Linked DNA regions of Homo sapiens: region 2 is linked to region 1. Evidence: promoter capture Hi-C in 16 types of primary human blood cells and fetal thymus (Javierre and others, 2016). All regions are on one chromosome and are shown on one strand. The core of a region is centred on a gene start or on the middle of the fragment in contact, and the rest is flanking DNA. Distances in the headings are between cores, read along the strand shown.

Region 1 (6,396 bases), core at 2,816-5,315:
AGGACAGTCATAAGACGAGGACTCTTATGCAGTCCTAATGCATAAGAATACAGCCTCGGCCGGGCATGGTGGCTCATGCCTGTAATCCCAGCACTTTGGAAGGCCGAGGCGGGTGGATCACCTGAGGTCAGGAGTTCAAGACTATCCTGACCAACATGATGAAACCCTGTCTCTACTAAAAATACAAAAATTAGCTGGGCATGGTGACAGGTGCCTGTAATCCTAGCTACTTGGGAGGCTGAGGCAGGAGAATTGCTTGAACCTGGGAGGCGGAGGTTGCAGTGAGCCGAGATGGCGCCACTGCGCTCCAGCCTGGGCAACAAGAGTGAAACTCTGTCTAAAAAAAAAAAAAAAAAAGAATAAGATCTACAAAGATTTTGTAGATCTGGGTTTGGATCTTACTTGCTATTTGAGAGCTTTGGACACATTATTATTATTATTTAACCGCTCTGGTCTTTGGTTTCCTCATCAGTAGAATGGGAATCAGAAGACTCACCATTTAGTTTTTGAGCAGCCTATCCCCTAGAGAGATGGGATCCCAGGTGATTTTAGATCCTTCTCTTTGCTTAGGTGTTTTTCCTCAGAGTTCTACAATGAGCATGTATTACCCATGTAGCAAAAGAAAAGAAAACACAAACCAGATAAAATCATAATAGGGACATATTCCTGCCTACTGCTGTCTTCCTGCCCTGATTTCCTTTTTCTCTAGCTACCAAGTCATAATTACTAAGAGTTATCATTTACAATTCTTCACCCCTATTCAGCAGTTTTTCATGCTTTAAACTGGGCTTACCTCTGAAATTGCATAAGAACTTTAAAAAACTAGCTGATGAGGAAGGCAGGAATGGTTAACCCATTTATCAGATGAGAAAACTGAAGCTCGGAGTGGCTAAGTCAATTGCACAAAACTACACAACTAGTAAGAAAAAGAAAGGGGGTTCAGCCTTAGGTATTTTGGGGCCAAATCCAGCGTTCCTTCTGTACAATGTGGGTGGGAGGGGTGGGAAGAGGGTGGAAATAATGATGGGGAGATCTGCAGGGGGAGAAGTACATTCTGAGATGGCTGCTAGGAGGGGATTGTGGAGTGAGAAAAGGGGTCAGGGTCATAAGGGTCTTCTGTTTGGGATTGGAAAGACTGCTTAGGAGCTGTGGGTTTTGGGGGAGGGTGCTGAGGATGGCCGTTGCTCACACCTGATCTGTAGTGTCCCCAGGAGGGGACAGGAAGGAGTCTAGTATTAGGCTCAGCACCCCTCTCCCCAAATTCTGCTTGCAGTGCCATACCAGTTTCTCGGCCTCCCAGGTGTCCACGACCACCAGTGTGGTGTCTTCTCCATCCACCGTGAGGGTCCTCTCATATACATCTTCTGCAACCGAGGGAAGAGCTGGATCTCAGGGAGGACGGGCAAGCCTGAGAGAGTGTGGTGTTCCCTGCCCCCCATTTCTGGTCATATCGCCCCCTCCACTTGTCCTCGGAAACGCTTATCACACTTGTTTGATGCCTGTCTCTCCTGGTAGGAGCCCATGTCTCCCCAGCTGCCATAGTACCTGGCACATAGTAGGTGCCAGAAAGATTTGATTGATTGAATGAAGGTGGGGTGGTGGGGTTAAAGTTGGGCTAGGAATTCTCCCAGGCCTGCTCTGTCTCTGATTTAGTGAGTGCTTCAGGCAGGTCATGTTATCCTCTCTTGACCTCAGTCTCCCTATCTGTAACACATATGTGTTCTCACTCGGAGAGAGAAGTCAAGACTAGAGAGGAGTCTGGCTAGATGTCCCTACCTTTTCTCTGCATTTAATCAACCCCCTTCCCCCACTCACCCTATGTCCTTTTGGCCAGTCCTTCAGGGGCCTACCTTCATCTCTTCTATCTTCCCTGTACCCCATCATCCTGGGGCCCCCGACACTCTCAGCTCACAGCAGTTCTTGGGAATAAAGCAACCCAGGGCCCAGAACTTGGGGTCTCGGAGTCTCCCTTCTGCAAAGGATCTTAGTTTTGCTGTAGATCATGGTGACCATGGATGGGTGTCTATGGGACTGGGAGAATCTAAGAGTCAGAGGAGTCAGGGAGGGGAGTTTCTGACCTTGGTGGAAGTCCACCATTTCTTAACATGGAATTCAGAATTGCCACCCGCATGACATGGAAATGAATCATATACTTCTCATTCATGGGAAGTTGGCAAAATTCTTGTTCTATTCAAGAATTTCCCTCCCCTTGACCATTGTGCAGGCTGTGCCCTGTACAACTTTGGAGGGCGGGGGGGCATCGTGCATGTCATAGTCTAAGTGAATGATGCCCCTTAGAGTTGAACAGTGCATGACTTGTACAACTGTTCTTGGCAGCCCTGTGTCCCTGGTGACAGGGCTTTCGCTCCTTTGGCCACATCCCAGCCCAGCCCATATGGCCCCTACCTCCCAGCTGTTCATGGAGGTCCCTCTCTTGCTTCCCTGCAAAGAGGCTGGCCAAGCTGGTCTTCCCCACTCCAGGATCTCCAAGTAGCACCACACGGTAGAGAGCCTCCCAGGAGCCTTCAGAGTCGCTGGATTCAGAAGACCAATCATCTGGGGCAGGTGAAGGTTTCTGGGTGGGAGGGTTGAGGGAGGCTGATTGGCCCAGCCGGGGATGCTGGGATTGAGTGGAAGGCACTGTGCTCAGGCGGCCAGGCTGGTGGCCCCGTGGGGACAGGGGCAGTGGGGTGCTGGCTCGCCGGTGCAGAGGGGTCTTTGCTTCCTGCTCGGTGTTGAGTGTCATCTTTGGTAGGGGGGGGTTTGCTTCTTCCTTCTTTCCTTCTGAAAGAAGGGGGAATTGGCTGTCAGCCAATTGCTTTGAGCTGCTTCTTTCTATAGTGTCCTGATGAGCTGCTGTATGGCTTCTTCCAGATCCCCCTCTTGTTCAGATGGGAGTAGGAGGTGCCTCAGCTTCTTGGGGCAGAAAGTCCCTAGGTTTTCTGGCCTCAGGCTCTGCATAAACCTGGATCCGGATGGAAGGAGTGAGTGTGCAGGCTGTGAACACACAGACATGCACACCCAGAGGCCATTCCCTTGTCTTAAGGATGATCTACTCCTGATGACAGACAGGCAGGTGGAGGGGCAGTAGTAAGGTGGGATGTCCTCACATGCACACTCCCCATTCCGTGTACACGGACCTGCCCTTGCCACAGAACATGAGGCCCTGGCTCTGAAAGACATCTGAATTGTCCCCCTCCTCCCCTTCCCCACCGCTCTCTTTCACAGCTTCTGGGTTGGGAGTGCAGTTTCAGGTCTCCCCCAAGGGTAGGGGCTACTTAACTTTCGATGCCCAATTTCACGGGGTCTGAGGAGGAAGAGGCAGGAGGGCGGGTTGGCACTCCAGAAGCGCGAGGGGGGTATGGGGGTAACCCGACTGTAACCCGAGTGCCCTAGTGCCATGGGAACCGCGTGTCTGACCCGCCCCCTGTGTGAAAAATTCAGGAGCGGCTGGCGCTACGGCCTCCAACTGCTTTTGGGGACGGGAGCTGCCGCCGGTCAGGCCCCAGGTTAGGTGACAGGACAGGGTCCTGGCAGGGGACGGGGAGGGCAGACCACAGGGCCCGGGAACGCTGTGCCATTCCTGGAGTCTGGGTCCGAGCTTTCTCAGCCGGCATCCCGGGTGTGAATCCCCCATCCTGGGGTTGGAGGGGTCTTTGTCCAGGGCTATCCAGCCCTCCGGGTCCCAGGTCTGAAGACCCTCACCCTAGGGACGCGGTTTCGAAGCCCCCCTATTCCTGCCAACGCTGCCGAATCCCCCTTCAATCGCCTGGCGAACTCTGCTCCAACTTGAGCAAGTTGGCGGCGCGTAGCGCAGGGCTTTACCTCGGCGTGGGAGGGGTCCAGGGTCCCTCGCAGCTCCAGCGGCTGGATGCTCCAGGCTGTACCACCCGCCTCAGTGAGCAGCCCCTCAGGCCAGTTCCCCTCCCCTCGCCGCCTCGGCCGGGGGAGGAGCCGCGACCCCGCCCCATCCAGCCCCGCCCCATTAGGGCAGCCCCGGGGTCCCCGCCCCAAGGCCCTGGCCGCTCAGTGACTTTTCTGAAAGTGCAGAGCTCAGCTGACCCGCTTCTGCCAGCCCTACGCACCGGGTGAGGGTGGCAGACGAGAAAGGAAGGATGGGGGCTCTGGATTCCTGGGTCTGGAGCTCCATCTGCGTCCACATCTGTCCACTCCATCAAGGGGATGCACTAACATATTAGCCCCCAGAAAAACCACTTGGGGAACTTGCTAAATTTTCAGGTCCCGCCTTCCAAGAGAGGCGGATTCCACGGTGCTGGGGGAGGGGTTCGGGAATCTGCGTTTTAAACAAGTGCCCCAAGTGATCCTGATGCAGGCGGTTCACTGACCTCACTTTAAGAAACTCTGCTCTGGATGAAGAATTAATTTTGGGAGGTGGCTTGGAGGAAGAGAGAGCTCAGGAAGTCTGCACTGAAGAATTATGAAAATCTTATTTTGGCATCATTCATTCATTCACCAACTGAGGCTTAGCTGGGCCTGGGCCTGAGGTCTCTGCCACTCTGTCTACTGTTTCTATTACTGATGGCTGAAAAAAAAAATGCTCCCAGGTATGGAGGAGGAGGAAAGAGATTGCTGGTGACGTCGGCCATCCAAGGGGCCAGGATCCAGACTCTTTGACTGGGCTGCCTCCCTTTAGGTCTTGAGAAATTGGGGTGTGTCTGTGTGTGGAGCCCATGGAGACCAGGCTGCACCTGTGGGTGGGGCTCATTGTCATGGCTGAGGGGATTCAGGTGTTCAGCTTGGAATAACTCCCACAGCAGCTGAACAGACTGGCTCAGCCCCCACAGGTCTTGGAGCTGATACAGAACCCCCTCGTGCCTGGCTTCCTTCCGTGGCTTGGCCCTCTAAGCTTACCTTTCTAACTTGCAAGATGGGCCATGAGTGGTGCAGCACCCTTCATTGTCTGGGAGTGAGGTGACTTGGCTTTTCCATCTCTGCAGCACAATTGCTGTGTGACCTTAGGCAAGTCAACTTCCCTCTTTGGGTTTCAGTTTCTTTATTTAAAACTATAATATGAACAGCTTACACTCTTGCTAAAAAACTTTTGGTTGTCTATAATACAAAAGTCTGAACTTGGCATTCAAGCCCCAACCTATTCTCTGCAGAATCATTTCAACCTCTCCTCCCAGGAAAACCCTTGCTTGGCTCATGCCCTACTCTTCTAGGCACATTCTATTCTTTCTGCCCGGGATACCTTTTCCCCTACTCATCTTTCATGATGCAACTTAGATTCCTGTGTACCAGACACTGTTCTAAGCTCTGCACGGATATTATCTCAGGGGTTCTCAAACTTTGGCGGTGTGTTAGAATCACTTGGAGGGCTTGTTAAGCCACATTTTGCCGGGACCCACCCATACTCTCATCTATGACTAGTGATCTAACAAATGACCAGAGAGCTAACTTGTGACCAGTGTTAGTGAATCTGTGGTCTAACTTGTAACCAGTGGTTTAACCTGTGACCCATGGGCTGCTCTGTGACCTGTGGCCTTCTTCTGCTTAGGAAGAGGTGAATTCAGTAGGTTTGGGGTAGGGCTAAAGAACTGGTGTTTCTAACAAGTCCCAGGTGTTGCTGCTGCTTGCTGGGGGAACCATAGTATAGGAGCCACTGTATTACTTCATTTAGTCCCCTAAATGAGATGGGTAGCTATTACTCTCTATGACATGGGTACTATTACTCTTCCCATTTTAGAGTAGGCCTGCATACATGCTGTTCACTTGGCCTTGTAAGGGATGCTTGTCATCATTTCATAGACAACAGCCTGAGGCTCAGAGAGGTTAAGTGACTTGTCTGATGTCTCACAGCAGTTAGGGGGAGATGCGGGGGATTGAACTAGGTCTCTCTTAAGCCAAGATTTTTTCCACTCTCTTAGGTGGGGAAGATGTCTAGTTTCTGACCCTAGACACTGCCTCAGAAAATTCTACCTCCCCTTCCGAGCTCAACAGGCTCCGGAGGGTGTGGCTGACCAGTTCCCACGTAGCTGGCTGAAATCCCAAGCAGCCTGGGGACCACATGGCCTCATACTCCCACTTAGGCCTGCTGCCCACAGCACTGCCTTCATCTGCAGCTCAATAAAGCCTGGGCTGGAAGCAGCGAGGCTCAGCCTGCTCGGGTCTTTCCTCTTGTGCTCTCTCCAGCAGCCTCCCCAGGAGCCCCGTGGCCATGACACAGCTGCTTCTGTTCCTTGTGGCTCTCCTGGTTCTGGGTCATGTGCCATCAGGTAACAACATCGTGTGCATGTGTGTGTGTGTGTGTGTGCACATGTGTGCTTGTAAAAATGAGGACTAGACTCTCAGGTCCTGGAGGACAGAGGGGCCTCTATCAGCATTTAAGTTCTGGCCCCACCACTGACTTGGTGGGCAACTTAGAGCAAGTTGCTA
Region 2 (6,286 bases), core at 2,778-5,277, 140 kb before region 1:
CAGAATCACTTCCAAGGCTATGACCTTAGCCCAAGAGGCCAGGTCTGAGGGATCCTGGGCAAGTCACTGAACTTCTCCGGGCTTTCCTTTTCCTATCTCTACAATGAGTGCGCTGGGTTAAGCTGTATGTAAGGGACCTTCCAGTTCTGATTATTCTGTTTAATCAAAATAGACTCCAGTCCAACCTAGTAATGTTTAAATTGTGCATCACCTAGGATGCAGCCATCCTACTCCTTTTAACGCATATTCACTGAGGGCATTCAGAGCAGCACTGCTGATAACAGCAAAACCTATGAAACAATCCAAAGGTCCATCACAGGAGACTGGGGCAATAAATCATATAATAGAATACTACAAAGTGGGCTGGGTGCGGTGGCTCACGCCTGTAATCTCTGCACATTGGGAGGCCAAGGTGGCGGATCACCTGAGGTCGGGAGTTCGAGACCAGCCTGACCAAAATGGAGAAACCCCGTCTCTACTAAAAATACAAAATTAGCTGGGCATGGTGGCGCATGCCTGTAATCCCAGCTACTCGGGAGGCTGAGGCAGGAGAATCGCTTGAACCCAGGAGGCAGAGGTTGCGGTAAGCTGAGATCGTGCCATTGCACTCCAGGTTGGGCAACATGAGCAAAACTCCATCTCAAAAAAAAAAAAAAGAATACTACAAAGTGGTGGAAATGAATGAATGAAGGCAAGAAATCAACATGGATGACTCTCATGTAATTCATGTTGCATGAGAAAATCAGGTTGCAGAAAATTGCATATAATATGATTTTATTTATATAAAAGGCAAAACCAGGTAATATCAAGTAATGGATTGTTTAAGGATGCATACTTGTACATATGTGAAAAAAAATAAAAGAACAAGCAATTGATTAACACAAAGTTCTGGATAAGAGGTAAAATCTTATGGGGATTTTATCCTGAAGGGCAAACACAGGCTTCAAATGAACTAATATTCTATTTCAAGCAGAGAGGCTGGTACTTGTGTGTTTTATAGTTTTATATATATACATATATGTGTATATATACATATGTGTGTATATACATATATGTGTGTATATATACATATATACACATGTATACATGTGTATATACATATATACACATGTATACATATGTATATACATATATACATATATACACATGTATACATATGTATATACATATATACATATATACATACACATACATATATACATATATATACACACACATATATATACACACATATACACACACACACACACACACACATTTTTTTTTTTTTTTGAGACAGAGTCTTTGTTGCCCAAGCTGGAGTGCAGTGGCGCAATCTCGGCCTCCCAAAGTGCTGGGATTAAAGGCGTGAGCCACCGCACCTGGCCGGTTTTATTATTATCTTTAAACTGCAGACGTGTGATATCTGCTCTATTGTAGGTGTGATACATTTCACAATTGAAAAAAAGAAATTTCCAAGATTAGGCCAGGCGTGATGGCTCACACCTGTAATCCCAGCACTCTGGGAGGCCGAGGTAGGCAGATCACCTGAGGTCAGGAGTTCAAGACCAGCCTGGTCCACATGGTGAAACCCCATCTCTACTAAAAATACAAAAAATGAGCCAGGCTTGGTGGCGAGCCCAGATTGCGCCACTGCACTCTAGCCTGGGCGAAAGAGTGAAACTCTGCCTCAAAAACAAAAAACAAAAAACAAAAACAAAAACAAAAAACAAAATTAGCTTGAGCGCCGTGGCTCACGCCTGTAATCCCAGCACTTTGAGAGGCTGAGGCAGGCTTATCACCTGAGGTCGGAAGTTCGAGACCAGCCTGATCAACATGGAGAAACCCGTCTCTACCAAAAATACAAAATTAGCCAGGCGTGGTGGCTGGCGCCTGTAATCCTAGCTACTCGGGAGGCTGAGGCAGGAGAATCGCTTGAACCCAGGAGATGAGTTTGCAATGAGCCAAGATCGCGCCACTGCACTCCAGCCTGGGCTACAAAAAAAAAAAAAAAAAAAAAAAAGCCGGGAGCGGTGGCTCACGCCTGTAATCCCAGCATTTTGGGAGGCCGAGGCAAGCGGATCACGAGGTCAGGAGATCGAGACCACGGTGAAACCCCGTCTCTACTAAAAATACAAAAAAATTAGCCGGGTGCGGTGGCGGGCGCCTGTAGTCCCAGCTATTGGGGAGGCTGAGTCAGGAGAATGGCGTGAACCCGGGAGGCGGAGCTTGCAGTGAGCCGAGATCGAGCCACTGCACTCCAGCCTGGGCGACAGAGCCAGACTCCGTCTCAAAGAAAAAAAAAAAGAAAAGAAAAGAAAGAAGAAAGAAAAGAAAAAGAAAAAGAAAAGAAATTTCCAAGATTAGCCCAAGATCTCCTCCTTTAAAAGGGAAGGAATGCCGGGCACGCTGGCTCACGCCTGTAATCCCAGCACTTTGGGAGGCTGAGGCGGGCGCATCACGAGGTCAGGAGATCGAGACCATTCTGGCTAACACGGTGAAACCCCCTCTCTACTAAAAATACAAAAAATTAGCTGGGCGTGGTGGCGGGCGCCTGTAGTCCCAGCTACTCCGGAGGCCGAGGCAGGAGAATGGCGTGAACCCTGGAGGCGAAGGTTGCAGTGAGCCGAGATCGTGCCACTGCACTCCAGCCTGGGCGACAGAGCGAGACTCCATCTCAGAAAAAAAAAAAAAAAAAGGGAGGGAATGAGGCTCATAGGGGGTTGTCACAAGCAAGGAAGAGGAAAGAGGATGAGAGAATGGGGGAAACGGTAGCCAAAGGGGGCCTGAGAGAAGGGGCTGAGGGTTTACATGTGCGCAGAACTCTTCACTCTCCTAACACGCTTGCAGCTCTGACTGCAGTTCCCAAGGCGTCCACTAGAGGCCACCAAGGCATCAGCCTCCGCCTCTCGCCGCAACCAGGCCGCCTTTCTCGCCCACGGTGGCATAGCCCGGGCTCTGCCCGGGAGGGGGCGCTGGTGGCCAAAGGAAGACGGGGGCGGGCACAGCGCCTGCGTTTGCAGCTGCATGAGACCAGGTGCTCTGGAAAGCGCTGGCCCGCTTCCCAGCTCTTCTCTGCCGCCCAGAGATTTTAGGGTCTCAAACCCAAAAACCGGGCCGGACAGGGTGGCTCACGCCTGTAATCCCAGTGCTTTGGGAGGCAGAGGCGGGAGGATTGCTTGAGCCCAGGATTTTGAGGCCAGCCTGGGCAACCATGCAAGACCCCGTCTCTATTAAAACAACAACAGGCCGGGCCCGGTGGTTCACGCCTGTAATCTCAGCACTTTGGGAGGCCGAGGCGGATGGATCACCTGAGGTCAGGCGTTGGAGACCATCCTGGCCAACATGATGAAATCCCGTCTCTACTAAAAATACAAAAAATTAGCTGGACGTGGTGGTGCACGCCATAGTCCCAGCTACTCGGGAGGCTGAGGCAGAAGAATCGCTTGAACCCAGAAGGCAGAGGTTGCAATGAGTCGAGATTGCGCCACTGCACTCTAGCCTGGTGACAGAACGAGACTTTGTCTCACAATTAAAAAAAAAAAAAAAATTAGCTGGGCGTGGTGGCAGGCACCTGTAACCCCAGCTACTTGGGAGGCTGAGGCAGGAAAATCGCTTGAACCCAGGAGGCGGGGGTTGCAGTGAGTTGAGATGGTACCATTGCACTCCAGCCTGGGTGACAAGGAGGAAACTGTCTCAAAAAATATATAAATAAATAAAAATAAATTAATAAAATAACAAAACAAACCCAAGCAACGAACAGCACCCACAGACACGATTCTTTGTCTTCTGCAGCTATGCCTTCAAGCTTGGGCCCTGCTCGGTCTCGTCTATATATAAAGAAGAGGATCTAGGTTTGTGCAGCCTCTAAGGAAAAGAATACAACATTTTGCAAATCTTGCAAAACACACAGAAATCATGCTAACACATGGCTGATACTCTTTCCATGTGAGGAGGCTTGAAGTTTAAGCTTAAGTAATTTCCAGGTAAATGCACCTCTGATTACACATCTGCATATTTATCTACTGCGTGTCTCCCACTAAGAATGTAAGTTCCAAGACTGCAAGAATTTGTATCTGAATTGTTAACTCCTGGGGCCCGGTTCCTAGTATATTGTAGAAGCTTTATAAACTATTTGTTGAAAGAACCAGTTGGGGCTAGTTTCACAGGTAGAAGTACAATGGCCTAGCCTGAGGCTTGAGGAGTGCAAAGGTTTGGGATGATATCACTGAAACCTCAAAACGGTGAGTATAACACCCATTTAAAAGCTGGGAATGAGGCTGGGCGACATGGTGGCTCACACCTGTAATCCCAGCACTTTGGGAGGCCAAGGCGGGCAGACCACGAGGTCAGAAGGTCAAGACCAACCTGGCCAACACGGTGAAACCCCGTCTCTACTAAAAACACAAAAATTAGCTGGGCGTGGTGGCACGTGCCTATAACCCCAGCTACTTGGGAGGGTGAGGCAGGAGAATCACTTGAACCTGGGAGACACAGGTTGCAGTGAGCTGAGCTCCTGCCACTGCACTCCAGGCTAGCAAGAGAGGGAGACTCTGTCTCAAAAAAAAAAAAAAAAAAAAAATGCTGGGGATGGCAGGGTGCAGTGGCTCACACCTGTAATCCCAACAATTTGGGAGGCCAAGGCAGGTGGATCACCTGAGGTCAGTAGTTCGAGACCAACCTGGCCAACATGTAGAAACCCTGTCTCTACTAAAAATACAAAAATTGCTGGGCGTCGTGGTGCACACCGGTAGACTCAGCTACTGGAGGGGCTGAGGCAGGAGAATTGCTTGAACCCAGGAGGCAGAGGTTGGCAACAGAGTGAGACTCCGTCTCAAAAAAAAAAAAAAAAATGCTGGGGATCCTAAGAGCCCAGGAGGTGAAGCAGGTGCCCAACCAGAAGTGGCACTGGGCCTAGAACCCGCATTTGCCTTGCCTCTTGCCCTGCCTTTGCTCCCAGCCACTGTCCTCCCTTTAACCCCCCTTGCACAAGGCCTTGATGCAACCCTGTACTGGCCTGGGGCACCCTGCTTGAGGACAGCGTTGGGAACGAGGTTTTGCAAGAGTTGCAGCAGGAAGCAGCACCAGCCAGGGCAGGTCCAGGGAGATAAGGGCACCCTCGCCCCTCCCTGTGCTCCTCCTGGCCTTCTGGTTTCCTCTTCCCTTCCCTTTCCTGGAAAGTGGCGCCTGCCTGGACCCTGGCCCCAGCCTCGCCCAGCTCCTGGCCTGGCCCTGTGACTCACCTCCTTTCTTTCCGGCAGCCATGCTAGGATGTGAGACCTGCCTGCCACCAGGAAGCCCTGCTGTGTGTGACACTGGGCAGCAGGGAGCTCTCTCTGGCTGGCAGTTCCTGGTGCTCAATAAGAGTGACTGGCATGGGTCGGGTGTGGTGGCTCACGCCTGTAATCCCAGCACTTTGGGAGGTTGAGGAGGGCTGATCACCTGAGGTCAGGAGTTCGAGGCCAGCCTGGGCAACATGGTGAAACCCCGTCTCTACTAAATATATAAAAATTAGCCAGATGTGGTGGTGCGCGTCTGTAATCTCAGCTACTCAGGAGGCTGAGGCATGAGAATTGCTTGAACCCGGGAGGCGGAGGTTGCAATGAGCCAAGATCACGCCACTGCACTCCAGCCTGGGCGACAGAGCGAGACTCTGTCTCAAAAAAAAAAAAAAAAAAAAAAAAAGAGCCGGGCACGGTGGCCTCATGCACTTTGGGAGGCTGAGGAGGGTAGATCACCTGAGGTCAGGAGTTCGAGAGCAGCCTGGCAAACATGGTGAAACCCTGTCTCTACTAAAAATACAAAAATTAGCTGGGCGTGTTGGCATATGCCTGTAATCCCAGCTTCTTGGGAAGCTGAGGCAGAAGAATTGCTTGAAACTGGGAAGCGGAGGTTGCGGTTGAGTCGAGATCGCCCCATTGCACTCCAGCCTGGGTGACGAGGAAAACTGTCTTAAAAAAAAAAATAGACATTCCCCAATATGGGTTGCAAAAATTGTGATATGTGTATATTTCTTGCATTTATCTGAGTTATGCTTTTAAAACAAATAAATATAATGACCAGGTATGATTTCAGTTGGAAATAAGATGAAAGGCTTTATAAACTGGACATACTGTGGGAACATGAGGCCCCTCATAAACCTGATTTAGACAAGTCTGATTTCTGGAAAGTCCTCTAAGGTAATGTGCAATGTGGCCTTGGGTGGGTCACCTCACCTCTTTGATGCCTCCGTTTTCTCATCTGAAAAGTGAACACAGGCCGGGCACGGTGGCTTACATCTGTAATCCCAGCTCTTCGGGAAGCTGAG

Evidence for each region. The method cuts DNA at HindIII sites, captures the fragments that hold promoters and counts their contacts. A CHiCAGO score of 5 or more calls a contact.
Region 2: a contact is called between a fragment that was not itself captured here and the fragment with the promoter of DEFB124 in region 1, in 3 of 17 cell types (M0 macrophages, M1 macrophages and M2 macrophages). The highest score is 7.5, in M0 macrophages.

The regions. Positions count from the first base shown.
Region 1 is chr20:31,472,796-31,479,191 of GRCh38, reverse strand. It overlaps DEFB124 (defensin beta 124), which reads left to right and starts at 4,065. Exons shown (of 3, transcript NM_001037500.2): 1 at 4,065-4,565; 2 at 6,154-6,236. The coding sequence starts at 6,179. It overlaps REM1 (RRAD and GEM like GTPase 1), which reads right to left and starts at 3,904. Exons shown (of 5, transcript NM_014012.6): 1 at 3,826-3,904; 2 at 2,407-2,965; 3 at 1,282-1,364. The coding sequence starts at 2,746. RefSeq lists a silencer at 3,953-4,012. The HindIII fragment of the contact is 9,153 bases long and covers 1-4,869 here.
Region 2 is chr20:31,609,639-31,615,924 of GRCh38, reverse strand. No RefSeq gene overlaps it. Among named protein-coding and RNA genes, the nearest start is that of MIR3193, 5.6 kb to the right of the region's middle. RefSeq lists a cis regulatory region at 4,804-5,402. The HindIII fragment of the contact is 152 bases long and covers 3,952-4,103 here.